Regions from separate parts of the Homo sapiens genome. Here region 1 is linked to region 2. Evidence: promoter capture Hi-C in 16 types of primary human blood cells and fetal thymus (Javierre and others, 2016). All regions are on one chromosome and are shown on one strand. Each heading gives the region's core, a stretch centred on a gene start or on the middle of the fragment in contact. The rest is flanking DNA. Distances are from core to core; before and after follow the strand shown. Region 1 overlaps MRPS27 (mitochondrial ribosomal protein S27). Region 2 holds the start of BDP1 (BDP1 general transcription factor IIIB subunit).

Evidence for each region. Contacts are between HindIII fragments. The CHiCAGO score rates a contact against its expected background, and 5 or more counts as called.
Region 1: a contact is called between a fragment that was not itself captured here and the fragment with the promoter of BDP1 in region 2, in 1 of 17 cell types (neutrophils). The highest score is 5.7, in neutrophils.

What each region holds. Positions count from the first base shown.
Region 1 is chr5:72,237,085-72,243,691 of GRCh38, reverse strand. It overlaps MRPS27 (mitochondrial ribosomal protein S27), which reads left to right. Exons shown (of 11, transcript NM_015084.3): 5 at 5,564-5,678. Among named protein-coding and RNA genes, the nearest start is that of MIR4803, 71 kb to the right of the region's middle. The HindIII fragment of the contact is 1,128 bases long and covers 1,823-2,950 here.
Region 2 is chr5:71,452,886-71,459,438 of GRCh38, reverse strand. It overlaps BDP1 (BDP1 general transcription factor IIIB subunit), which reads right to left and starts at 3,788. Exons shown (of 39, transcript NM_018429.3): 1 at 3,350-3,788; 2 at 584-860. The coding sequence starts at 3,561. RefSeq lists enhancers at 3,001-3,926, 3,927-4,853. The HindIII fragment of the contact is 8,261 bases long and covers 1,164-6,553 here.

The DNA of each region.
Region 1 (6,607 bases), core at 1,137-3,636, 790 kb before region 2:
TTTTGTTGGCAGGGTGGGAGAGGTGTTTTGGAGGGGACTCTAGCACCTGGTGCTTTTATTTTGTGCAGGCTAAGTGTGTGTATGTGGAAAGTTAAAATTACCTTAAATTCTTTGAGTAAGAATCTGAGATCCCAAGCAGGAAATTTTAACTTATAATACTGATGTTTTTATTATCGATTTCTGTATTAAACCCTGCCCTCTTTTTTTAAGTACTTGACAAAAATATAATAGTCATTAGAAAATTATCTCATCAAAATTTGATTTTATTTGTGGTAGTTGAGGGCAACTAATAATTGTTAGTTTTGAAATTAACAATTCTGAAAGCAGAATTTCCAGCAGGATGAAAAAGAAAATAATGAGAAAGTGAGTAGCAGTGATTGAATCAGATTCTGATTTAAATAGTCACATGACACTCTTGGTCTTTGGTTCTAGTTCAAGGAAGCGCTCATTCCTTTTGATAGTTGCTAACTTTCCTTCATTGGTAAGATCCTCAGTCCACACTACAGGCTTTGAAGCCAGCCATATTTTCTTCTTGGCATTCTTTCTTTCCTCCCTTTACCCTGACCCCCTCTCCCATCTCTGTCTACCCAGCTCCGTGGCTGAGGTTCCCATCTGTAAAGCCTGTTGCCACAGGATACAGAATTCACTGGGGCGGAGGGAAAGCTGCATGTGTGTGTTTAGGGCTGGTGGCTCTCGGAATCGGATAAACATTGTGGAAAGCTTGCTCATTCATGTGGAAGAACCAGTGTGTTACAGCTAAATGGTGGAGCTGTGAGCTGCTGGGCTCTAGGCTCTGGCATCTGTGCATTGGGCCTGCCCAGCCTGGAGCATTTTTATTTGTGAGACCGAAAATGCTGATGAGCATTGCCACTTTAGCCGTTCAACAATAACAAAACCTTTATTTCAACCCCGTGGAAGAAAGGCTATATTTTCCTTTTTTTTCCCCCCTATTTTTGGTGTGTATGTGTGCTATGAGTGCCGTGAGTGTGTGTGTGTGTGTGTGTGTGTGTGTGTGTGTGTGTGTGTAGACGGGGTCTCGCTGTGTTGCCTAGACTGGTCTCAAACTCCTGGCCTCAAGACATCCTCCTACTTTACCCACCAAAAGTGCTGGGATTACAGGCATGAGCTACTGTGCCTAGGCCACTTTTTTTTTTTAATTAAATGACGAAATTGGTCAAACAAGAAATCCCATGCGACTTTTACACACAATAGAGTACCTCCTATATAATCACAGTCAGTCTGTGGTGTTTTTTTTTTTTTTTTCACTCTTGATCTCTTTTATATAACCTCTCTTCCCTTCTAAGAAATCTCTGTGATATCCAAGACTTTCACTCCCATGTCATTTTGGCAGCCTGTGATTCTGCTCTCCTTCTTTCCTGGTAACATCAGTCTTGAATGAGCAGCAGTGCAGGCAGATGCCCTTAAGAGTTCTGAGTATGGCCTGAGTTTTGAGAATAGGATGCTTCTCAGTTCCTGCTATTTTATTGGCCGTGGTTTGGCTTCCTAGGCAAGCTCTGTCTTCACCTGAAAATCCTACTCAACACTGGGGACAGAGATCTCTTTAGCCATGGGATACCAACTTTTAGAACTAGAGCTAGAACTTGAGAGTACACTTTGTCACTCTTTCTTATGCTCCTCCAAGAAATACACATTTCCTCAGAATTGTAAGTGTAATCACATTTTATAAGCTGAAATCTCAGAGTACCTTTAGCCTTCATGAGCACAACCTTGTTGGGGATATTTGGGTTGTATTTGTTTCTCTTTTCTACACTCACATGTTTGCCTATCTTGACAGCCTGTTGGCCTAGGCAATAATAAAGCTTCTGTCGAGGTGAGCAAACAGCTGATGGCATAGGCGCACAGAGGGGACTCCTACAGTGGCTGGCTGTAATCTGCCAGGCTGGTGGTCAGAGCAGGCGAGAACAAAAGCCAGTCTGTTTGCAGGCAAATTGGAAAATCAATGTGTTAGTTGTATTCTTTTCTCTTTGCCTTTCTTCTGACAGAAAGGGAGAATGCTCATCCAGCAATCCACAGAATTATTCCAGGCAAGTGCCCATTCCAGAGACTCACTCACCTGACATATTACTACTGGAAGTTGAAAAGTCCCCACATTTATTTGTCTGAACTGCTTAAAAAGTCACCAACAGGAATTCTTCTCAAACTTGCCATCCAAAATTGAACCCCGCTGGCCCAGTGTTTTGACTTGTTTATATTCCAGATAGCCACTCACGTAAGTTTATCTTTTTAATGCTGATGGGGGCCAAGAAAGGAGTTCATTTGCTTCCTGGCTGGGAAATTCAGGAATTGCATTTTGGGCAGCATATTTTATAGTATGTGTGTAAGTATTTCACTGCTTTTCCTCAGTTTATTTTTTGTGAGAGTTCATTGAAAATGTCCAAGGCTGGGCACAGTGGCTCATGCCTATAATCCCAGCTCTTTAGGAAGCCGAGGTGGGAGGATCACTTGAGGCCAGGAGTTTGAGACCAGCCTGAACAACATAGCAAGACCCTGTCTCTACAGAAATAAAGAAGGAGGCAAAGGCAGGAGGATCACTTGAGTCCAAGAGTTCAAGGCTGCAGTGAGCTGTGATCTTGCAGTTGCACTCCAGCCTGGATGACAGAATGAGACTTTGTCTCTCAAAATGTATATACAATAAAAAAGAAAATGCCCTAGACATAATTGGGTCTAAGATTGTTAGGGCTTAGAGAGCAGAGCTCATACCAAGTAGCCTTGTCCCAGGATAGGAGAGGGAGTAGACTTATTAAAGACTTCTCTGAGTGTCTTGACAAATATCTCAAAAGGCTGCTGTGCAGAGATGATTGTATTCGATGTGTGAAGTCTTGAGTAACTTTCCCTTTAGGCTTCTAAGAGAGAAAGTCTGTGAAGGAAGGGTTTTTGAGAAGAAAAGACTTTCTTGCTCTTCCTTGTGTTGAAGTTAGCCTTAGAAGCTTAGCAAATGGCTTTAAATATGTTTTAATTTGAGCTTTGAAGGTCTGAAACTAGGCTCTCATTATCAGTCTTTGTTATTTTTTCAAAGCCTAAAAGTGGTCTGCTGATCATGAATAAGAGAAAGGTGTTTGGTTGGATATGGTCATGGTATTCTTATTGTAAAGTTCATCATCAAAAAAAAGTTACAACTTTAGTGGCCATTGGAAACATCCTGAGCCAGAACCTTAGATTTAAAATGAGTATTAGGTTTAAAATAATCTTGAGTGAGGGTAGTAATTGGCATTTGATATATTTTTTTCCCAAAGTCATTACCAAAAAATAATTATATTTCGTTTTGTTTCTTTTTAAAGGAAAAATTGACTAAACCCAACAACTGCTACTACCAAAAACCCTTCAGCCTCTAGCAATCCCTTTTGTCTTTAGCACTTATCATGCTCCACCTCGTATTATTATTAAATTATGTGTGCATCGTTTTTGTAATGAGACTCTAAATGCCCTGAAAAGGAAATTTACATATCTTCATATATACCATAGACATTAACAGAATGATCGGGACATAACAGCATTTAATACCAGTGTTGATTAAAGCTCTTTTTTTAATTAGCTGAAAAACCTATGGGCCAAGAATTGTGTCAGTACAGGAATCAGTATTGAGCAAGTCAGTCTCTGTCTCTGCTGACACAGGAACTTACAGGCTGATGAGGAAGCATCACCATCGTTGAAGCAGTACACCTGATACTTCACTTGACTTTTTTCTTTAAAAAATAAAACTCATTTTTAATTGGTCATTTCATGTTAAATCTCAGATTGTTCAGAGAAACAAGAATCAAGTAGCTAAACTATTGATTTGAAAATGTTGCCTGGGCAACACAGCGAGATCCTGTTTCTACAAAAAATAAGCTGAGCATAGTGGCATGCACCTATACTCCCAGCTACTCGAGAGGCTTAGGAGGAAGGATTGCTTGAGCCTAGGAGTTAGTTTGAGGTTATAGTGAGCTAGGATTGCACCACTGCACTCCATCCTGGGTGACAGTGAGACCCTGTCTCAAAAAATAAAAATAAAAAAATAAAAACAAATATGAGGGAAAACATGGAATACTAAAGGTATATTTTGTTTCATTTCTGTGCAGAAGATCTTATAAGATTGAGTATCTAGGTCCCCTATACCATGCCTTTCTCTGGCCACGTCACTCTTATTCTAAACCTAATTTGACATATTTCTCTATTTCTGATTTTAAAGGGGCTAATTTGTAGAGAAAAATAGAGTGAGAGAGACATTTTCTAGCAAAACCTAAAATATTGAAGAGAATCAGGCTGCCTAGAAGACCCTAAATCCATAAAACATCTTTGGATCTTATTTTTGCCAAATCTCTCACCAGAGCACTAATAGATATCCTAAATTAAATACTATTTCTCACTTCCTCTCCTTTTCTTAACCATTACTTTGGCAGAGAACCTGTTCAGAGGAAACTATCCCAATAGCAGATGGCAAGAAATAGCAGGAGGCAGACTGAATAATCAGCCTCTAAAAGCCACTAGTATTCATCTGTACCCTCGACTCTCAAATATAGCATGGAATCCTTTAGCACTAGGTTTTTGTCTCACCTTTTTCTTTTTAAGAAAAAGAGTTTGATTTTTGTGGAGCCCAGCGATTGGCCTGCTTCCTGAATGATTCAGGAAAACATAGGGATTTCAGCTAACATGATATAGTATAGCATATGAGGGTCCATCCTAATCAAAGTAGATAAATAAAAAGAGGGACTACAGAGCCCTTTCCACCCCCATCTCGCAGCTCAATCTCCAGTCAGTCTTTTGTCATGAACCCCAGGAACCGGGAGTAGCAGCTTCCATCCCAGGTGTTAGCAATGTGCGTGAACTAAGGAAAAAGCAGCATTTGGAATTCCTTTCCAAGCACTGTTCCTTTGTAGGTATACTATTACTGTATATAACTCATCCTGGGCTGCTTCAGACTTTTAAGACCCTGTGGGGAGCTATAGGAAGTAAGGGATAAACTGATGAGCTACAATGGAACTGTGAAGAAGGCAGTGTGGGATTGTGGATCTTGGAGGACATGAATGTTAAATTTTACTCAACTTTTATTTCTTTTCCTCTGTTTTCCTTTGACTCAGTGAAGAGTGTCCCAGTCTCTCCTAAGAGCCACAGGAAGTATCACTGTTACTCAAAGCTGATTCTCCTCTACAGAGTTGCTGTGCTATCCTATTTTTCATTTTCTTCATTTGTTTTAAACTTCCAAAGTTTCAGCTTAAGCTTCACGTCTCTTCTAATGAAATATCTGTTTACATAATGCCATGATTAGTAGAGTATTTTTCCCAAATCATTTTTCATAAATCTATTAAAATGAACTGTTGAAGTAAGGGGTATAAGGAATACAATTTTTGTAAAATTTTTTGTTATTTATTAGTTTGCCTTCTCTTTACCATTTCAGACTTTGTGGTTAATAAGTTTCATTCTCAAGTTTTTATCAACTGTTGACTTTTATGAATTTCTGTCACATTGCACTCTGTAAGTATCTAAGAGAAGGACCTATCGATGGAAGATGTGTTTTAACATATAAGAGTTAACACCAGTTTTCTCTCTTCTTGTGCTTATTTAGGTTTCGACACAGCCCCAACTGCTGGTACCTGAGAAACTGGACTATCCACACCTGGATTAGGCAGTGTCTAAAATATGATGCACAAGACAAAGCCCTATATACCCTTGTAAATAAGGTGAGTTGTTCCGTGGATCTGCAGCCTGTTTTCCTGAGTTTAGGTGATATGGTGTTTGTACCTATTGTAGTACAGCAAAGAATAACACCAGAAATAACTTTAAAAAATTATTTGGCCTCAAATATTCTTATTAACAGAATGGAGCTGGGTATAAGTTCATTAATAAATTAAAAAAAAAAATCCTGTAGCTGCTACTTTTCCAAATGTAGTGACTCAGAAAAGGACAGGTATAAGCAAAAGGAAGAACTCTGCAGTGGTGGTCATTTCATTCTCGGTTGCTAAGCCTTAGATTTCTTGCCTGTTTCCTTCTGGTGAAGTATAGGGGAAAAACATGACCATGTTGCTCCTGTGTCTTTGGAGTTCCCTGACTCCTCCCATCAAGCCTGAGAGCCCTCTAGGATTAGGATCTTTCTGACTGTTACACCACCCAAGAGTTGAGTCTTACTTACATTCCACTGTATGCAGTAAATACAAAATGAACAGAGGTTTAGAATGTTATTATTGTGAGTCTGAAGCTAAACACTAGTTTGAACTATAAAGATATTTTAACAGTCTTTTTATGAAAAGGTATTACGTCTATAATGTCACTGGACCCTGAAAGTTAGCACTGAAAAGGAATACTGATTTTGTTTTTGAGTCCCCTTCTGTGCAGAATGTTTTATTTCCAGTTGCACCAGTTCAACTTAATATATATTATATACAGTTTGTTTGTGAGACATTGGATTGGTTATTGATAGTGGATACAAAAATGAGCAATATTCTGTTCTTGCCCTCAGGAAGTTTACAGTTTAATAAGGCAGATAAGCAGGATTACTTATAAATCTAATATTAGGCAAATGTAGGTGCCACACAAGAATATTTGTAAAGGCCAGGCACCGTGGCACATGCCTGTAATCCTAGCATTTTGGGATGCCAAGACAGGAGAATCA
Region 2 (6,553 bases), core at 2,539-5,038:
CCAGGTTCAAGCAATTCTCATGCCTCAGCCTCCCCAGTAGTTGGGATTACAGATGCACGTCACCAGGCCCAGCTAATTTTTGTATTTTTAGTAGAGACAGGGTTTTGCCATGTTGGCCAGGCTGGTCTTGAACTCCTGACCTCAAGTGATCTGCCCCCCTAGTCCTCCCAAAGTGCTGGGATTACAGGCATGAGCCACCACGCCCGGCCTATACTTGTCTTAATTCAAATAAATATATCACTTATCACTTGGACATCTTTATGTGAAAAATCAGACTGAAGGTTTATTTTATAAATATGTTTGTGTATGTGCATCTATGTGTATGCGTATGAAACTTATTTGTGGTCTTCACCAAAAACAGTGAAAACATAAATAAATAATGTAAAAATTACTATCAGTGAAAAATGTAATTTAAGTCCACGGTGTATCAATCAATCCATTAACAAGAAGGGATGTTCTATTGACTAAGGGATGTTATGTGGTTTTGTTCCCCCATCAAAATGCTACAAATGCTTTTCTTCCCAATGATTCCTTACTAACATAAATAGAAGGCAACATCAAAATCCTGATTCTCCTCCCTTACCTTCTCTTTTCTCAATTCTTCTTTTAACATTTCCCTCAGTTTCTGGGCTTTGTATATTCGGTATCTGTCTGAGCATGGCTGTTTCTCTTTTGTTGAAGTGGCAGTTGGCTGTGGAGCCTCTTGATTAATTGTAGATAAGGGATGAGATTCTGAAGGAACACTGACACTAGACTTAACCAGGCTAGAAGTACTTGATATTCGCTTTCTTCTCTGTGAAACAGTAGAGGAAGATCTACTGGATTCTTCAACATCATTGTCACCACCAGTCTTTTCAGTACTGTTGAAATTAAAAAAGAAAAAAGAGGGCACATGAATCTTCTGTTACACATGCTAGTTTTAAAACCTAGTCTGGTGAAAATCCAAAACTGCAATCTCGTAATTAAAAAAAAAAAATTAGTAACTTGAGATTTATGATAATTATGACAGGTTACAAAAAAATTTGTTTAGTAAATCTTTTAAATATACGTAAATTCTAATAGACTCTTAATCTTTTTCAAACATAAAGTCCCTAGGCACATTACAGCACATAATTATAGGCTTACCCCCCTCAAAACAAATAACCAACTTACAGAACAAAGCTTAGTCAACCTAATTTGAATTACTAAGTAACAAAGTAATAATTTATAATTAATTTCTATATAAAATTTAAAAAAATTTTAATTCACTCTGACATTTTAAACTGGTCTAAACTACCGGCATTTTACTTTACTTATCAACCCGAGGTCAGTCAAATCAAATATGCAAAACTCCAAACCTCTGAAATATCTGTATTGCAGTATTTGAAGAAAAACATTTAGTTACAGTAGCCAAACCCAATTCCCTTTGAGGCAGAAATCATTTATCTTTTGTCAGGTACAACTCTACTTATACAGCCATCAGAATAAACTTCAGTCAAAAAAAGTACTCAGTCACCCCAAATTGCATATTAGGTATGGTATACCTCAGATATAAGTATTTCAGGAATGGTCTATAAATGCAACTTAAGTCAAGAAAAGAGGTGGTATAAGTCAATAATTAAAAACAGTCTACTTTTTTCCTATTTTATAATTACTTATAAAAAATTAGAAAATGCCTTAACTTATAGAATAACCTTTCCAGGAAGACTTCAATTTAAATTCGTATCTTAGCTGTTATGGATACATGCATTATCTGCATTTCACCCAATTATGTTGAATGCATAATGACAGAATATATATCCTATAGAGTTTTACAACTAGCAAAGACCCACAAAAAAATAAAAAGAGGCTGGGCACGGTGGCTCACACCTGTAACCCCAGCACTTTGGGCTGAGGCAGGTGGATCACTTGAGGTCAGGAGTTCGAGTCCAGCCTGGCCAACATGGTGAAACCCTGTCTCTACTGAAAATACAAAAATTAGTTGGGCGTGGTGGGGCACGCCTGTAGTCCCAGATACTTGGGAGCCTGAGACAGGAGAATTGCAAGAACCCGGGAGGTGGAGGTTGCAGTGAGCCGTACCACTGCACTTCAGCCTGGGCGACAGAGCAAGACTCCATCTAAAAAAAAAACTAATTAAAAAAAAAAAAAAAAACCACTTTCCCAGAGTCAGTAATGGCAAAAAAAGTGACTAAAAAACAAATTATATTCCCCAAACGTAAATGTCAACTCAAAAAAAAAAATTAAATATCCTTGACCATAAATATCTCAAAACTACAATCTTTGGGCAATTTATTAAATTATCAACCATCACGCACTCACACATAATTAACGAAATCTCTGAGAACTTTATTAATGTAACAGCGACTAGTATCGGTATCTCCTTTCTGTGTAGAAATTTTGAAACAGATTCATGTAATAAACTTGGAAATTACTAACCATCACTGAACTATCAACGTAACACCATACACTCAGCACCAGTTCAGGCCAATAGAGGAAGATGTTCCAAAAATAAATAAATGTTTCACCTTCCTATCACAGCATAAACAGAATTTGTACTATCTCACTTCACTTAACAAGGCTGTTTACTGATTTCCTCATATATATAGAAACAGAGACCATCTTAGCCTAACATGTCTTAAATTTACTCCATCACCTTTCTAAAAAACTAGTAACTTTTTGCGGGCAACTATTCTGCTATATCCCCTGCAAGGTAGTTAATATGAATTATCTCCAATCTGCACCAAAACGCTCCAAGTAGGCAATATTATTCCCATTTTGCAGATGAGCAAATTCTGCCTGAGAAAAGTTTACCTGTAGACTAAAAGAGTCCTGAATCCAAATATGATACATGACGCTAAAGCCATGCTTCTCTATTCAGGAAACACGGTCACCATAGTTAAAGAGGCACACTTCAATTAAGTGACCAGAACTCTTACTCACTGACATAAATCGGTAAAGCCAAAGCAATACTTATCTTCTCCTTTAAAAAATAAATATTTTATAAATTGAAAGACAAAAACACTTCCCTGCAAAGCACTCCAGAAGGATGAAAACTATAGTGACCTAAATTCTCAAATGAATAGTGTGGATATTCTTCACTTCAGGACTGCCATACCCCGATTCTCCCTACCACCACTTGAAGACATGGTCTCCTCTCGGAGAATCTATAGACCGTGACAAAATCCACACAAGCCACACCCTGCAGGTCAGACAACTAAACTGCAGTTTGGAGTGGTTTCATCAAGCCTCAACTGAAAGGCTTACTGCAAACGAGAGCGGACTCCTGTGATAAAATTCATTTGCTCAGCTTCCAGGTGACATGCCCGGAGAGGCGGGACAAATGAAAATTCTTCCCTCTGCAACCTCTTACCTGCTCCTAGGAGCCTTTTCTTGGGGCTCCGCTCCACCGAAATCGACTGTGGGCACATCTGTGGGCTCCGCGGGCTTGGAAGCAGAGTCCGTGGCAGGATCCGGCGGCCTGGGAGACTCCCGTCCACGCTGGGGATTGGAAGCTGTGGAGCCCCTGGCGCCTACACCAGGCCTGACATTCGGCTTCACGCTAAGGCGTGCCCTGCGGAACATGGCGGAGGCAGGGGGCCCGGGGAGGCAGCCTCACGGCCGCTCACAGCCCCGAGCCCCGGCGGCTGCCCGGAAAGGGGATTAGGAACTACGCCCTCCCCACAAAGCCACACCACCAGCTCAGGGGGCAGCTACCGTAGTTTCACTGCCCCGCCGCCGCCTCCTCCTCTCTCCCGCCGCCGCCGCTTTTTCATGACCCTGCCACACACCGATGGCTAAATTTCACCCTCCTCCCAGCATCCCCGCGCTCACAGGACGCCGCAACTGATTGCGCCATCAGCCAGCGCCGCAGAATGACGTCAGACGCACAGCACTGGGAGCCATGGTAACTACCAAGCTACTGAGACTGGGTTACCTGCGGACCAGAAATTGAGATGCAGAGATATTTGCTCTTTCTTCTCCAGGAGTCCTTAGGAGTAGTTGAAAAGAGGAACAGAAGAAAGTCCACTTCTCTGCTCAAACCTTTACTGGAACTATTAAAATCGCTGGCCGATTTTGTCTTTTGAAGATCCTGAAGGGTTTAGAAATTCTAAATTGAGTAGACATAGATTAAAAATGCTGGTGTGAAGAAACTGATAATAGTTACCTCCCAGGAGAGGAATGTGTTTCTGGAAAACACGTCGTGGTAGGAAGACCATTTACCGTACGCCTTTGTGTACTTTTTTGTTTTTGTCCTTTGAGACAGGGTCTTGCTCTGTCGCCTAGGCTGGAGTGTGCAGTTGCGCGATCTTGGCTCACTGCAGCCTCCACCTCTCGGGCTCAGGCGATCCTCCCGTCACAGCCTCCCAAGTTGCTGGGACCACAGGCACGCGCCACGACACCCGGCTAATTTTTTTTTTCTCGTATATTTAGTAGAGACGGGGTTCATCATGTTGCTTAGGCTGATCTTGAACTCCTAGGCTCAAGCGAGCCACCCATTTGGCCTCCCAAAGTGCTGGGATTACAGACGTGAGCCACCACGCCCAACCTCCTTGTGTACTTTTTAATATGAATGTATCACCCGAGATCGTACCACTACACTCCAGCCTGTTTAAAAATTATTATAGTTGAAACCTTGTAAATTATTGTGAGTGTTCTTAATCTGCTTCAGGAGGTAGCAGTAAACAAGACGTTCTGGATTTGGGAGGAGAAAATACAAAAAAGAAATGAACAAGATATTTTTAAAATGTATCAGGCCCGGCGTGGGTGCCTCATGCCTGTAATCCCAGCATTTTAGGAGGCTAAGGCAAGGCAGATTGCTTGAGGTCAGGAGTTCGAGACCAGCCTGGCCAACATGGTTAAACTCCATCTCTACTAAAAATACAAAAATGAGCCAGGCCTGGTGGTGCAAGCCTGTAATCCCAGCTATGGGAGGCTGAGACAGGAGAATGGCTTGAACCCTGGAGGTGGAGGCTGCCGGGAGCCAAGATGGCACCACTGCACTCTAGCCTAGGCAACAGAATGAGTGAGACTCTGTCTTAAAATAAATGAATTAATTAATTAATTGCAATAAAATAAAGTATATCAAATGTCATGAAATAAATTTAAGGGTTGAATGCCGGGTATGGCGAGGCACGCCTATAATCCCAGCTACTGTGGAGACTGAAGTGGGAGGATCTCTTGAGCCCAAGACTTCCAGACCAACCTGCTCAAAATATTGAGACCCCTAAAACAAATTACCTACATGCGGTGGCTGTGATGGCTCCCACCTCTAGCTCCAGCTACCTGGAAGGCTGAGGCAGGAGGTCCAGGCTGCAGTGAGCTATGATAGTGCCACTGCCCTCCAGCATGGGTGACAAAGTGAAACCTTGTCCTTAAAACAAAAATTTAATAATAAGAAGAAAAAAAAGAGAGAAATGTACAGGATGATGTGATAGAAAGTAATGGGAGGGAGGCTGGCAGTAGAGTGGCTAGGGAAGTCCTCTATGATGAGAGGAAAAATAGCCAGAGCTGAGGTTGGCCTTGGAGGTATTGGGCCAATGTTTGAACCAGTGATACAAATCCCCTGACTCATGGGAACACAAAGGCCTGACTTTCTTCTTAGAAGGAAAAGAAAATCCTACAAGAATATGGTGATACATTAATAACAAAAGGTCAAAGGAATAAAATTCTGAACTGACTGAAGAAATTGATCACCTAAAGGGAGAACAAAAAAGAGGCAAGTGCTTTTGAGAGTAGGAAGGCAAGACTGAAAGCAGAGAAGAGAAAACATATATCTCTAAGACTATGAAGAAAATGAAGGTCTGGAGGCCAGGCACAGCTCGTGCCTGTAATCCCAGCACTTTGGGAGGTTGAGGCAGGCGAATCACTTGAGCCTAGGAGTTTAAGACCAGCCTAGCCAACATGGTGAAACCTCATCTCTACCAAAATTACAAAAATTAGCTGAGCATGGTGGCTTCTGCCTGTAATCCCAGCTACTCAGGAGGCTGAGGTTGGAGGATTGCTTGAGCCCAGGAGGCGGAAGTTGCAGTGAGCCAAGATCACACCACAGCACTACAGCCTGGGTGACAAAGTGAGACCCTGTCTCAAAAAAAAAAAAAAAAAGAGAGAGAGAAAGAAAGGAAGGAAGGAAGGAAGAGAAAAGAGGAGGTCTGTGGATTCCGTGGGCTCCCTGCAATACTCTGGAAAAGGAACAGTATCTCAGTTTTATCTTCTTTATTTAAAGAAGCTCAAGAATTCGAGAGAATACCCTGCTAAAGATGTCTCAGGAATCTTGGAGCCACTGCCAGGTCTACACAGCTTTGAACAGCATATTCTGATACCAACTGAAGACACAGGGCCTTTCCCCAGATGGTCTTCTGTTCCACTTAAGAGACTAGGGCATTGTCCCAAGTTTTTACAGGTCAGAAAGTAAATAGTGACTAAGATTTAATTTCCCACCAGTAAAGGGATGGGAACAGAATCAGATTAAATTTTATTATTAAATATAAAGTCATAAGACATTTGTTACACAAGTTTGTGGAGTAAATTCTTAGTGGCATCATACGAATTTTTTAAATCTCTACTTTTCTCTGAG